3 separate regions of the Homo sapiens genome follow, and regions 1 and 2 are each linked to region 3. The links are contacts of gene promoters, found by promoter capture Hi-C in human tissues and cell types (Jung and others, 2019). All regions are on one chromosome and are shown on one strand. The core of a region is centred on a gene start or on the middle of the fragment in contact, and the rest is flanking DNA. Distances in the headings are between cores, read along the strand shown. Region 1 overlaps PCSK5 (proprotein convertase subtilisin/kexin type 5). Region 2 overlaps PCSK5 (proprotein convertase subtilisin/kexin type 5). Region 3 holds the start of PCSK5 (proprotein convertase subtilisin/kexin type 5).

Region 1 (4,652 bases), core at 1,802-4,301, 310 kb after region 3:
TAGGAAAGATAAAAATGATGTCTGTTTTTGTAGACGAATAACCATCAACATGACAACAAAATTCATTGGGGTCTACCAGCGTGCATTCCATTTCCCACTGACCATGCAGGTGCACGTCGCGGAAATACTGGTTTAACTACTAGTGTGTTACTGCCTCATTTATCTACATAACATTATTAACTAGAACATAATGCTTTCAAAGTTTAAGTTAATGTTATATATTATGTATAAATATATATATTCATAATGAGATATATGTAATGGATAGTACAAAGTTTGGAGACTCAACAAATGCTCTAACCTTCTAGAGACAAAAGTCCTATTTCTGTTTTCTTTTGTCTTTTTATTTTCAATTAGTGACCCATTGTTAAATCCAAATCCACTTTTACTGAAAAATACTGTACATGTGTAAAATGTTCAGTTGTTTTTTTGTAAAATATAGTAGAACGGTTGTAACTGATACTGGCCAAAATCAATGTTATTCCATATTTTATTTTTTCTATTAAATTAACCTAAGTTCCTGTTTATTTGATCTGTTCATACCCACGTATAAACTTCTCTGAAAGGGTAAGGTCATGAGAAACTTCCCTGTTTCTACATAGAAGCTGAATATGAAGGAAAGGGTGGAGGTGCATGAAACATCTAAATAAAGTTGGAAAAGAAAGAGTGAGCAGAGGAGGGAATTGAGAAGGAGTGAGAAACAGCAATGTAAGAAAGGAATGGGTTAGATTTGGTCATGAATATATATTAAATACCATCTTTAGAAAGCAAGGCTGTGAAAAAAAATCCATAAAGGCTTGGTATTGTTTCTATCAGATTGTACAGACGCTGGACCCCAGAACAGGGCCCACCTGGTCCCATTCTTCCTGTAGTGCGCAGCACACCCACTAGTATGTGTCTGTAGGGTTAGGAGCCATGGCTGGGGGCAAGGAGGTAGGCAGTGTAAAAGCTGTTAAAGAGGAAGGTGGCTTTGTTCAATTTGCTGACATCTTGCGTAAAGTCGGCATTGGCTGGATGTCTAGAAGATGATTTTTGTCTAAAATAAATCTCCGGTACATACCAGGGGGTGGGACTGAACGAGCTAGCTAAAAACAGCAGTGGAGTATAGATCTTTCTGAACCGTGCCTGAGATGCAATTACTAGTCTTAAAGGTTCAGTGCTCTGCCTTTTGGGGAAAAGAAATTGTAAACCAGCCAAAGCCACAAACAAATTGAGCTCCAACTAGGTTTAAAGATCTGGAGATAACAACCAGGTATGAGAAAGAGCCTCTACTGCTTTGAAGTCCCATTATAGGGATGGAGAGAAATTAATTTTATTGATCACTTACTATGTACTACACAATGTGAGAATATAGAGTAGGTATATACACACTGATGTGGATATGTTCTCTCTCAATTTTCAGAAGGACTCCTCTAGAGGTGAATGTATTATCCTCCATTTACACATGAGAAAACTGGGCCACATAGACTTGAAACAAATTGATTGAGATTCCATATCCAGATTCATAATAATAATACAATTTAACATTAAGACAATTAACAGCAAGTAGTACATGCCAAATCTCAAATGAGTGGTACACTGAGTTGTTAAGTTCAGAACAGGCAGAGATTCCTTTGAATTGGACTGGTCAGTTCCCTAAAGCAGGTAGAGCTAGAATTGGTCCCTGAAGCATGGATGAGTCTTACCTGGGAAGACAGGAAGAGAGCGGGAAGAACATTACCAATGAACTTGCTCCAGTTACCAGTGAACTTGCTGCATACAAGGTGCTTAGGGAAGTAAGATGTTCTCATGGTTTTAATCTAATTATCTATTGCTACAAAGAACAGTGATTCAAAATTTGGTGGTTTAGTCCAGAAAAATCTACATTTGTACACCTTGTAGAAGAAGGATAGTGTGTCCATTCTGAATCCCCACATCCATGGGAGACTGCTAATTATCACTCACTTTCCACTCCAGTTATCAGAGGCTTGTCACACTGCTGATCTCTTCTACCAGATTCATTATTTTCCGCTGAATAAGCTACCCTTCATTTTTAAAGAACTTACAAACTGAGTACTTGGTAAAGAAGGGGAAGTGATTGCTATAGTAACTACTAAAGTTTCTCAATCAAAGTGATCAATACTTGCAACATATCTGAGTATGGAAATAAATACATAACATCTTATCCCCCTCATGTAAAAAGAATGTCATGCCGCTAAAATATAAAATAGACATTCATTCTTAACAGCTTCCATATTATCATTCAGCCTTGCACAGAGAGAGCAATGGCAGACGGCAATGTGTTGAACAGAAATTGCATATTGGAGGCAATTTTAAACTATGGCTCAGCCAATTTAATACCCCCCCTCCTTCTGTCCCCAACCACAAGATGGTAGAGGTGGAACAGAGGACAGCTGCAGTGTGACCTCACCCAGCCCAGGGCCCTGCGCCCAATATGTGTAGAAGACGGCACAGATCTTCTTCTCTTCTCTGGTGAACATCCCTTTCTAAATGTTATGTTTGTTGCAGACTCATGAAATCTGAAGTTTTCACACAGAATACTTTAGAGCCTTTGACATATTTAGCAGGGCATAGCCAAGGTGGACTTAATTTCACTGTAGCTCATTAGAACTACTTGGCACCTAGAAATGGGGCTAATCTGTATAATCCTGTCTCCTCTTCATCACTAGAGGTGAAGATCAGGTCCAGATTCAGTTATTGAGCAATAAAGATGCAGTTATGCAGCCTCACTACGTTTCAGCGGACCAGAATGTGACCTGGGATGGCCAGCACTCCTTCCCGTTCTCTACCTCCAAGGGACTTACAAGGACAGTTTGACTGGCTTATTACCAAAGGACTTTCTTACAAGGTCTCTTCTCTAAAGGACCATTGTTGGATCCAGTTGTGGTTTTTTTAGGGCCAGGTGTCAGGCAACAAAAGATATTTTGTATCCCACTTTCTAGAAAATTCCAGAAACGTTCCCTGAGGCTTGAGTTGTAAGATCTTTTACTTTTTTCATTTTAGAAAACAGTACATTATTTTAAAAATACAGTGTTTTAAGCTTCACAGAGTTTTACTAAAATGGATTTATTTAATTTGGCCCACACAAAAATCAGGCCGATAGACATTCATTTTCTGATGCAAGAGGCACAGCTAGTTAAGGGGTGTGGCTGGGACTCAAGCCCACAGCTTCAACATTCTGTACAACACTGATTCCTTTTTAAGAGTGCTGGAGAAAAGCAAGTCCACATCACATATGTTGCAAGGCAAGGGGGTAAGAGCCTTTTCTCAAGTGAAGATAGAAAGCACACTGTGTGCCTGGGCTTGACTTTTTCTCATTCCAAAAGAGTTGCTTCCATAAATAAATATTATTGAGTCCCCGCCACAAACTAGGTTCTGAGTGTTCTCTTGCCCTCTTCAAACTTATAGTCTAATGAGGGAAACAGACACTTAGACATAAAACACATGGTTACAATGTGAATCCGTTTAAGTGCCTTTAAAGGGTATAAAATATTGTCAGGAGTCAAAGGAGCAAGCTCACTTCACTAATCACGTGCTAAGGTTCCATGCCCTTGCACTACAAGCTTCCCAAGGACTTCCAAAAATAGCATGAAACCTTAAAAATGGAGTTGACTCTAAAATGTACAAATAAAACTGCAAAGATCAAAATCAAATGATATCTTTATTAAATATCTACAAAGTGGATCATGTCAAACTAGTCCACTGCAACTAAGAAAGTATACTTACAGCCATTGTCACTTGACAGCAGGGATATGTCTGAGAAACGCATCCTTAGGTGATTTTGTCATCATGCAAACATCATAGAACACACTTACACAAACCTAGATGGCATAGCCTACCACCCACCTAAGCTGTATGGGATGGCTTATTGCTTCTAGGCCACAAAGCTGTACAGCATGTTACCGTACTGAATACTGCATGCAGTTGTAACAAAATGGTAAGTATTTGTGTGTCTAAACATAGAAAAGGTATGGTAAATATATGGTATAATCTTATGGGACCACTGTCATATATACAGTCTGTTATTGACCAAAACGTCATTATATGGTACATGACTATAATTAATGTTAATGTAGAATAAAGGTGAATTTTAATATGCTTGATATGATGTGAGACCTGCAGAGATTGGAGAATCTAGGATCTTGAGAATCTTCATAGCCCTGCAAAGGAGGGAGGAAGTCACTATTCACCCTCTAGGGAACAGAAAAGAGGAGAGAGAGATATGTCCTATCCTTGGTGGTGGTCAGGGAGGTCACTGGGGTGGGGCGTGGAAGGGCAGCGTACGGGACTGCAATATGTGGATGTCTTCCTGGATATCATCCTCACTTCTTCCCTGTGCCTTCTACACTCTCTCCAAGGAGATCTTTGTCAATCTCATGGTTTTAAATACCATCTATATGCTGATGACTCTTAAAATATATATAGATTCCTGATCTCTTCCCTCAAGATTCACACCTGTAGATTCAATTAACTACTTGACATTTCCCTTCAGCTGTCTAATAGGCATCTCAAAATTAACACGTCCAAAATAGACTTCAGACACCCCAACCCCCTGACCATCTTTACCACCAAATCTCTCCCACCTCAGTAAATGGCATTCACTGTATTTCCAAATATATCTCTAAATGGTCTACTTCTGCCCACTCCATAGC
Region 2 (4,215 bases), core at 1,308-3,807, 350 kb after region 3:
AGTGAGGGCTGCCCTAACCTCCTTGCCTAGATTAGGCCTTCACATCAGCAACCTGGGAACGCTGCACTTCCCCCTTCATGAGCCTCAACACATTTGATGTCTATTTGGTCCATAAGTTTCTATGCCCCATAAGAGCATGGCATGGTTTCTACCTTGTTTCTGCTGTATTTTAAGCATCAGCACAGTGTCTGGTATATGGAAGGTTCATAATAAATAACTGAATGAATTAATGAATGAATGGTTCAATGGAAGGAATGTTAAGACCAGCAGTCAGAAAATGTGGGTTCAAGTCCCGCCTTTGTTACTGACGAGAAGGTACTAAACCAGTCACTTCACCTCTTTATGCCTCTTCTTATTTGCAACAAAAAAAAAGAAGAAGAAGAAGAAGAGAAAGTACAAGATGGCATCCAAAATCACTTTTACATCTCCATATATAGCACAAAATTAGAAAGAAGTTTAGATACCAAACAAATGTCTAGTCTTCTAAGCATCCTACAACTACTTGGACCAATCTACCTATAAATGCACTGACATTTCTTCTATTTTTTTTTCTATTTGAAATTGTGTTTAATCCATTATCTTAAACATTTATTGCATCCCTTCTATTTACAAGTTACTATGCCCTGAATGCCAGAGAAAATGAGATAAATGATAGCATGATACTCATGTTCAAGGAATTACAGTCTAACAAGGAGGTTTGTCCTCATATGTTACAAAACAAGAAAATAATAGATGAAGACCAAATGCATGGTAGAAATCCTATCCCAGATCAGAGAAGCAGCATCACTTCCAGCTGTAATGAGCAGAGAAGGCTTCCTCGAGGTGGGGTGTTGTTTACCAAGCCCTGAGGTAGCTCTGCCTCCTTGAGAGTGTGATGTCCTTAAGAAGCATTAGTGAAGCAAGTGTAGCAGAGACCTTGATAACACAGTGCTGAAGAAGATGGATGACTTAATTGAAGAAGTTCCATATCCATAAATGGAAGCTTTAATAAAAGGCTAAAAATCCTCCAGCCGGGGTGTCCCATCAACCTTCATAAGCCCCTCCTACCAATTTGTAGAGATTGCATCCCTTGTTTAATTGTGACTTCATTAAGGTTTAGGTATGATGCCTCTTGGAAGTGTACATCTCCAGCTATATTGCTGAGGATTCACTCCAATTCTCTTCCAGATTTATTCACTACCAAACTACCCAAAGCTAAATTCCATCAATCACACAACAGCTACAGTAAGCAAAATGTGGTAGTCAACTTCATCAAGTTTATTTTCAGAATCCCTGCACCTTTCTTTTATCCTTTCCAGCAGTCCTTTTCGCCTCATGCCTTCAACCCTCACCCTTTCTTTTCTTCTATGGACATCCAATATCATCATGCTGGTCCACTTTCTCACCTAACAGAATCAGCTGCCAAGAAATGCTCTGGTAAAAGTGAATTACTCTCCAGAATAAACAAAAGCCAATCCAAACTCTTGTCCCCTATTATCCCATTTGAACTCTTGTCGCCTGTTTTCCCAGGAAAGTTTTTGGTGCCTAACAAAAGTATCAGCCCTTCTACCGCTGGAAATAGCTTCGTCTACATACTATTATAATAATTTAAAGTCGAAGACCCTGGGCAAGTAGCCAAAAATTTATGCATGGTATTTAAATTTCTGAGCTATCCAAATTATCATCCATAACTAATTGAGCAGGGCTACTCAAAATCTGACCGAATCTTGACATAGTCCTGGACCAAACCTGTCGGAAAAGCTGGTCATGGCCAAGGCATCTAAGTGACCTCCCTTTGTAGGTCTATGTATTTTAAACACTGAGACCCCCTGAAATCTCTGTTCTTTAAACCCAAATTATAACACCCAAAGAGGCACCTCAATAAAGCCATGTCCAAACAATAAAAATGGGATTGAAGAACACTTCCTTCTAAATCTGGGCCCGTCGTTGCTAATTTTTAAGATTGATGATCCAGTTGGATATAGGGGAAAAATTGAATATTGCCAAATTCCACAAATACATATTTAGAGCCTTAGACTCCCTCTAAGCATCTGGATCCTGAGTTGATGTCTTGTGAAGGTGCAGGGGATGGAGAAGAGGTAGACTTCCTCACTGCTCTCCCTCAAATCTTCCTACCTACACCAGAGAAATTGGGGAACTCTGAAAAAAAGATTTTTTTCTGAATGAGTCATGGTGGATGGAAGTGGCATTTGCAACGGTTTCATAAAGTGGCTGAGAACATAACTTGGAAGGATGACCCTCTTGTGATCTTCAGAGATTCCAGGTTCCACCAGATCAGAGTCTTGTGCTCCACAATGTTGATCGATAGCTATAGAATCACCAAATGCACATTAGTCCTTCCAAACCCTCTTCTTTCCTTAGAGGATAATCTCTTCTATGTCTAATTTAGAAACAGCAGAATATTTTCTTCCACCACCTCTGTGGAAGCCCTTTTTATTTTCTTAGTCCTATGGGAACCAGTAGCCTTCTAGTAGAAAATCACAATTAGCAAAATAGGTAGCTTGAGAGCCCATAATCCAAAAGCATGTTTTAAAAATTGCATTTCAGGCGAGGCACAGTGGCTCACGCCTGTAATCCCAGAACTTTGGGAGGCCAAGCCAGGCAGATCACTTGAGTCCAGGAGTTCAAGACCAGCCTGGGCAACATGGTGAAACCCTATCTCTACAAAACATACAAAAAAAAAAAAAATGGTTGGGCATGGTGGCACGCACCTGTGGTTCTAGCTACTTGAAAGGCTGAGGCGGGAGGATCACTTGAGCCCAGGAGAGGAGGTTGCAGTAAGCTGAGATCATGCCACTGCATTCCAGCCTGGACAACAGAGTGAGACCCTGTCTCAAAAAAAAGAAAATGTATTTCAACTATGGCTTTGAATAAATAAGAAATATTATGATAAATGATGTGAAAGTGCCATGCTCACAGGTAAAAAATAGTTAAATATCGGCAATTTCACGTGGGTCAATTTAACATTATACTGACTCTCAGTTTCTGCACTTGCAACATGGGGTTAGTGCTATCTTTATCCACAAATTCAGCAGCCTTGCATCTTGAAGGTCAATGATTCTGGATCTCCATGTGGTAGATCACATGACGAATGAACCCTAGACCCCGGTTATTCTGAGTAACACAGATCAGCTGCTCTTCAGAGGCAGGGACATGTGGGAAATCTGATTCAGAGAAGATGGATACCCCGAGCACACTCAGCACAAAAACTCCGGGAGGGTGGGAGTAGGAGACCTCTAGATGCATCAGTAGTCATCTTATTGTTGTTTTTGTATTCCTAACGGATTAGAATCCTTTGTAACTAATTGTGATGCTTTGTAACTAGTTAGACTTTTTCATTCCCTCCAGAAACAAATTCCCATGGTCTGTTAGGCTGTGGGCACTGCTGATTCTTTCCTTATAGAATCCAATGTTGACAAAAGTCAGGAACCCTCAGGAATGCACGTAAAAGAGTCAAAGAAGTGTGCTTGGTCTAGTGCTTCAATAAGCTTGTCATTATCGGCATTGGCAGCTCTGCAGAAATTCAGACCTTAGATGGTTAACGCAAGCATGTGACCGATAACAATTCAAAATCATTTTAAAAGATTGCACTTTCATAAAAAGTGTCGATCATTATGCATGTGTTTATTCTCATGGGCTCTCTATAGCCCCCAAGTCTGAGAGCTTTCACAGATACCAAAAGGAGCCTTTGGGAAAGTTAAACACATTTTGAATTGTAGTTAAACACAATGTGAATTGTAGTTATTCACAGAGCATCATTTTGCAATGACATCCCAGATAGTAGTCGCTGTTCACTGAAATATATAAAATATTGGAAAATAATTCCCTGCAAGGAAAACTTCTCAACTACAAGGATGTAGCTATTGCACTTTTCATTAAATCCATCCTTACACCCCTCATCCACTAGGAAAAAAAAGCACTCAGTCGCATCTTTTTAAAATATAATATCTTACATTATAATAGCTTCATGGCTAACTTTGTACATTTTCCCTCTTTTCGTTGCCCCTGTAACTGATCAGACAACTATGGCCGAGAGCACTTCCTGTACCAGGGAGAGTGTGGAGATAGCTGCCCAGAGGGCCACTATGCCACTGAGGGGAACACCTGCCTGCCCTGCCCAGACAACTGTGAGCTTTGCCACAGCGTGCATGTCTGCACAAGATGCATGAAGGGCTACTTCATAGCGCCCACCAACCACACATGCCAGAAGTTAGA
Region 3 (4,724 bases), core at 1,287-3,786:
CTTGTTACAAAGTACCTTATGTAGTGGCAACCCTTCTGTGGATCACGGTGAGACAGGTCCTTCCTCCTACCTGAAATGCCCACAATTCTGAATTAAAAAAAAAAAAAGAGAGATTGACTGTCCCTTATATGTGTATTGAGATGTGGACCTTGACTGAAGTCTTATCCCATCTGAAATTTACCATCTTCAAGAGGGGTAATCCAATGTCCCTATGCATAGATGCAGATTGTCAGAGTTAACAGTGTTGTAATAGATTGTGAGCTTTCGGACTCCATGGCTAGGGAAGCAGGAAGAGATGTGTCTACAGGGACTGGCTAGCAGGGAGACTGTACCAAAACTCTAAAGCACAAGCATAGTGCTTATGTTTTCCTCTTAAAAATAATAATAATAGGGCCGGGAGCGGTGGCTCACGCCTGTAATCCTAGAACTTTGGGAGGCCGAGGCGGGCGGATCACAAGGTCAGGAGATCGAGACCATCCTGGCTAACACAGTGAAACCCCGTCTCTACTGAAAATACAAAAAAATTAGCCAGGCCTGGTGGCGGGCGCCTGTAGTCCCAGCTGCTCGGGAGGCTGAGGCAGGAGAATGGCGTGAACCCGGGAGGCGGAGCTTGCGGTGAGCCGAGATCGCGCCACTGCACTCCAGCCTGGGCAACAGAGCGACACTCCGTCTCAAAAAAATAAATAAATAAATAATAATAATAATAATAATAATAATAGGACGGGCATGGTGGATCATGCCTGTAATCCCAGCACTTTGCGAGGCCAAGGCAGGCAGAGCATTTGAGATCAGGAGTTCGAGACCAGCCAACCCTGTCTCTACTAAAAATACAAAAATTAGCCAGCCTGTAATCCCAGCTACTCGGGGAGGCTGAGGCAGGAGAATCGCTTGAATCCGGGAGGCGAAGGCTGCAGTGAGCCAAGATCACACCACTGCACTCCAGCCTGGGCGACAGAGCGAGACTCTGTCTCAAAAATACATACATACATACATACATACATACATACATACATACATACATACATACCTTCAATAATAAACCACATTTACTCTACAGTATTCAGAGATTCTGAATTCCACTAATTTTTTGTGCCTCCCCCTTCCCCTTTCTCCAGTGTACAGCACAATTCATTGCACATGCTAGGTGCTCAAAACAGATGTGTTGAATCAGTCAAATAAATAAACGAATAAAATACATACACTTCTGCACATGTTTTAGTTCTTCTGATCTTCTATTTCTTCAGCTATAATGTGGGGATGATGTTATTTTGTGGGTTTGTTTTCAAGATTAAATAATATAGCATACCTTATACAATATGTAAAATGTCAAATGCTATGCTCAAAGGTACTAGTGGAATTTTAAGTCTGCAGGTATCTTTCAGATTTTAAAAAATCAGTACCAAAAGCTATAGGTGGGATGAGTTAATTAATCTCAAACACATTTAAATTAACAGGAAGAAAGAAATAGGGCATGGTAGGAGGAGAGAAAGGAGGACAGTTAGGGATATAGTGAATACTTTTAAAGTCAGTTGAATTATTTCATACGGGATAATTTTTCTTGTCACAGTAAATCACCCTGTGCCCCACCCCCGCTCCAGGAAGGCAGGGAGGTTGTAAAGGAGAAGCGAGAAGAGGGTTAATTTGAGCTCCCTCCTGCCTGCTGCAGTCACAGTGCATGATAGAGTAATGAAGGTGACGCCGCCACATATCTCATCTGAACTTCCTCTGTGGTCTTTTTCATATTAAAGTCTTTCACTGTTACAGGACTGTGCTTGGAAAAGTTGGGAAACTTTTCCCTTGGTGGAGAAAAAGAAGCCCTCGTCAGACGCAATCCAACAAATGAATGGAGTTATTTCCTTGGCCCAACATGTCCATCCACTAGCACACCAAATATTCATAGAAACATCTTTCCTCACTTCCAAGGCCGGAATTGTACTCTCCCGTGGCGTTGCCTAGTATCGCAGATTTCGAAAGTGAGCAGGCAACAGACTTGGCTTTCGAGCCAATTCTAGGAGTCGATGCGACTTACTGTCCTGTGTGGTAGCTTCTCCCGGGAGCAGAAAGTGTAAAATAAACAGCTGCTGAAAAGCATGAAGAATTAACGAAGTGAAAATCTCGAGTTATTTGTTCGGCAATTGACACGTAAGTGACCTCCTTAAATGCCTAGTTATTTAAGGACGTTTAGAACGAGGATGAATGAATCTTCAGGGCGGTTAATTCGCACCGGCGTGTAAATTTCTTTAGTCTTTCGGGAAGTGGCGGTAAATTCATACAAATCCAGCAGGGAGGGAAGAGAAGGGAGTAAAACCACGATCTCGGAGCGCTCTTCTCAGTCCTTTGGAAAGACTTGCCTTTACTGCCCGGAACCCTGGAGGTTACAGCTGGGCGAACCCGGAGGCGCTAGGACCTCGTCAGCGCCTGGCTGCGGCCGCTTTCAAGAGGGCGGAGGAGGGAGAGGAGGAGGGCGATGTGGGAAAGGAGGGGTGTTAAGGGGGGCGGGGGAAGTCATTTATGCAGAGCAGGAGCTGCTGCCATTGCCACTCAGAATCCTCGCGCGCTGCTCGGAGCCGGAGGGAGCGCTGGGAGCGAGCAAGCGAGCGTTTGGAGCCCGGGCCAGCAGAGGGGGCGCCCGGTCGCTGCCTGTACCGCTCCCGCTGGTCATCTCCGCCGCGCTCGGGGGCCCCGGGAGGAGCGAGACCGAGTCGGAGAGTCCGGGAGCCAAGCCGGGCGAAACCCAACTGCGGAGGACGCCCGCCCCACTCAGCCTCCTCCTGCGTCCGAGCCGGGGAGCATCGCCGAGCGCCCCACGGGCCGGAGAGCTGGGAGCACAGGTCCCGGCAGCCCCAGGGATGGTCTAGGAGCCGGCGTAAGGCTCGCTGCTCTGCTCCCTGCCGGGGCTAGCCGCCTCCTGCCGATCGCCCGGGGCTGCGAGCTGCGGCGGCCCGGGGCTGCTCGCCGGGCGGCGCAGGCCGGAGAAGTTAGTTGTGCGCGCCCTTAGTGCGCGGAACCAGCCAGCGAGCGAGGGAGCAGCGAGGCGCCGGGACCATGGGCTGGGGGAGCCGCTGCTGCTGCCCGGGACGTTTGGACCTGCTGTGCGTGCTGGCGCTGCTCGGGGGCTGCCTGCTCCCCGTGTGTCGGACGCGCGTCTACACCAACCACTGGGCAGTCAAAATCGCCGGGGGCTTCCCGGAGGCCAACCGTATCGCCAGCAAGTACGGATTCATCAACATAGGACAGGTAACGAACTACAGGCTAGCCCAGCCCTCGGCCCTGAAGCCACTGGGGGCTTCTTGTCCCCTCTGCGTGGAACCCCCTCCCCCTCTTCCAGATGTGCTCTAGCAGCTGTTGCCCTAACTCTTGGGCGATGCTCTGTCTCCTGCGCGCGCGCGCGTACGCACACACACACACACACACACACACACACACACCCCAGAGTTGCCGGGTCCGTGTTTTGTTTACTTGTCTTTTCCAAGCCACGCGGGACTGGTAGGGTCTCGGGAAAAATCCAGAGTGCCCCCGTGGTGGCTTCAGAGACGGCTGGACCTTTTGACCTGAAAAGTCGAGTAGCACTAGTAATCTGAGGCAGTCTCAGAGAGGGTGATCGTGGGGAGAGGGGGAAATTAGGTCTTTTGGGGGATAGGGGGTGAGCGCGCCTCTGATGCCTGCGGGGAAGGGAAAGCCTTTCCTGCTCGGACCTGAATTTAGCCCAGAAAGAAGTTTCCTCTTGGGCGAGAGAACCTCTGGCGCTGGAGACTCCGGAGGCGCGGGGACTGGAGCTGGAAGGGAGGAGAAAGGAGGGGGAGGGAAGAGGGGGCCGGCCCCGGTGTGAGTGCAGATTTAGGGGAGACCTCTAGGCTTTCTCGCCTTAAGCGAGGTCCGCGTGGGGGCTCCCGGAAGGGAGTTGTAGTGGGGAGGTGGGAAACTTCCGAAACCGGCTGGCTGGGTTCCGCTCCGGGAAAACGAGGAGTCTTACCCCGGGACGGAAGGTGCCGGGCCGGGAGGTTGCGCCGTGGGGCGAGAGTTGGGCAGGCAGCAGGGGCGCGGGGTTTTTGTGGGGTGCCGCTCTCGGGCTTTTGGCAGAGCTCTCCTGCTAGGGAGAAATGCCCATAAACTAAGGTGATGCTATGAGGATGATTGGAAGCGTAACAGATTTGGAAGTACTCCGGGTTCAGTGGTCTTGGCTTTCTGGTTCTCTTCCCCCGACACCCCTGCGAGAAATGGGGGTAGAGAGGGCTATGAAAGTGGGTCCCAGAAAGTACCCCCCTCCACATACACACCGCAAGCATCTTTGGGGTTGGCCGGAGGGGCGGGCCCTGGCTGGGCTCAGGCGAGAATCCGCTGGAATGGGAGGTGAGGATGATGGATGGCGCCTTTCCAGCAGGCGCGCTTTGGGGACTGCCCGGGGTGCACGCACCCTGCGTGCTCTGCCAGGGGGAAGGGAGAGGGAGGTGCTGGCTGGTGCCGGCGGAGTGGGAGAGTACGGACAGTTTCTGAGGCCATTGCGTTCCACGCCCAGGAACCCGGGGACACCCCCCGCCCCTCCTCCCCGCCGCCTGGGGGATGCGGCACCTGGAGAGGAGGCAGAGCTGCTGTCGCCGCGTTTAGAAGGAGCTGGGGAGTGCGGGGAGTGTTCAGAGGAGCAAGAGCACAAGATCTTGCTCTTTGCCCGCCCAGAGGGAGGACATATTCCAGAGAAGCCAGCCCTGTGGAGAACTGAGACTAGG

What was found. Contacts are between HindIII fragments. The study calls those that stand out against the background at their distance.
Region 1: a fragment that was not itself captured here is called in contact with the fragment with the promoter of PCSK5 in region 3 in 2 of the 25 tissues and cell types used here (lymphoblastoid cells and mesenchymal stem cells).
Region 2: a contact is called between a fragment that was not itself captured here and the fragment with the promoter of PCSK5 in region 3, in 1 of the 25 tissues and cell types used here (mesendoderm cells).

The regions. Positions count from the first base shown.
Region 1 is chr9:76,195,363-76,200,014 of GRCh38, forward strand. The region is part of intron 20 of PCSK5 (proprotein convertase subtilisin/kexin type 5); the gene reads left to right. Among named protein-coding and RNA genes, the nearest start is that of RFK, 200 kb to the right of the region's middle. The HindIII fragment of the contact is 3,635 bases long and covers 1,235-4,652 here.
Region 2 is chr9:76,234,940-76,239,154 of GRCh38, forward strand. It overlaps PCSK5 (proprotein convertase subtilisin/kexin type 5), which reads left to right. Exons shown (of 38, transcript NM_001372043.1): 23 at 4,020-4,215. Among named protein-coding and RNA genes, the nearest start is that of RFK, 160 kb to the right of the region's middle. The HindIII fragment of the contact is 5,301 bases long and covers 1-4,215 here.
Region 3 is chr9:75,888,137-75,892,860 of GRCh38, forward strand. PCSK5 (proprotein convertase subtilisin/kexin type 5) reads left to right here and starts at 2,537. Exons shown (of 38, transcript NM_001372043.1): 1 at 2,537-3,237. The coding sequence starts at 3,046. The HindIII fragment of the contact is 15,443 bases long and covers 1-4,724 here.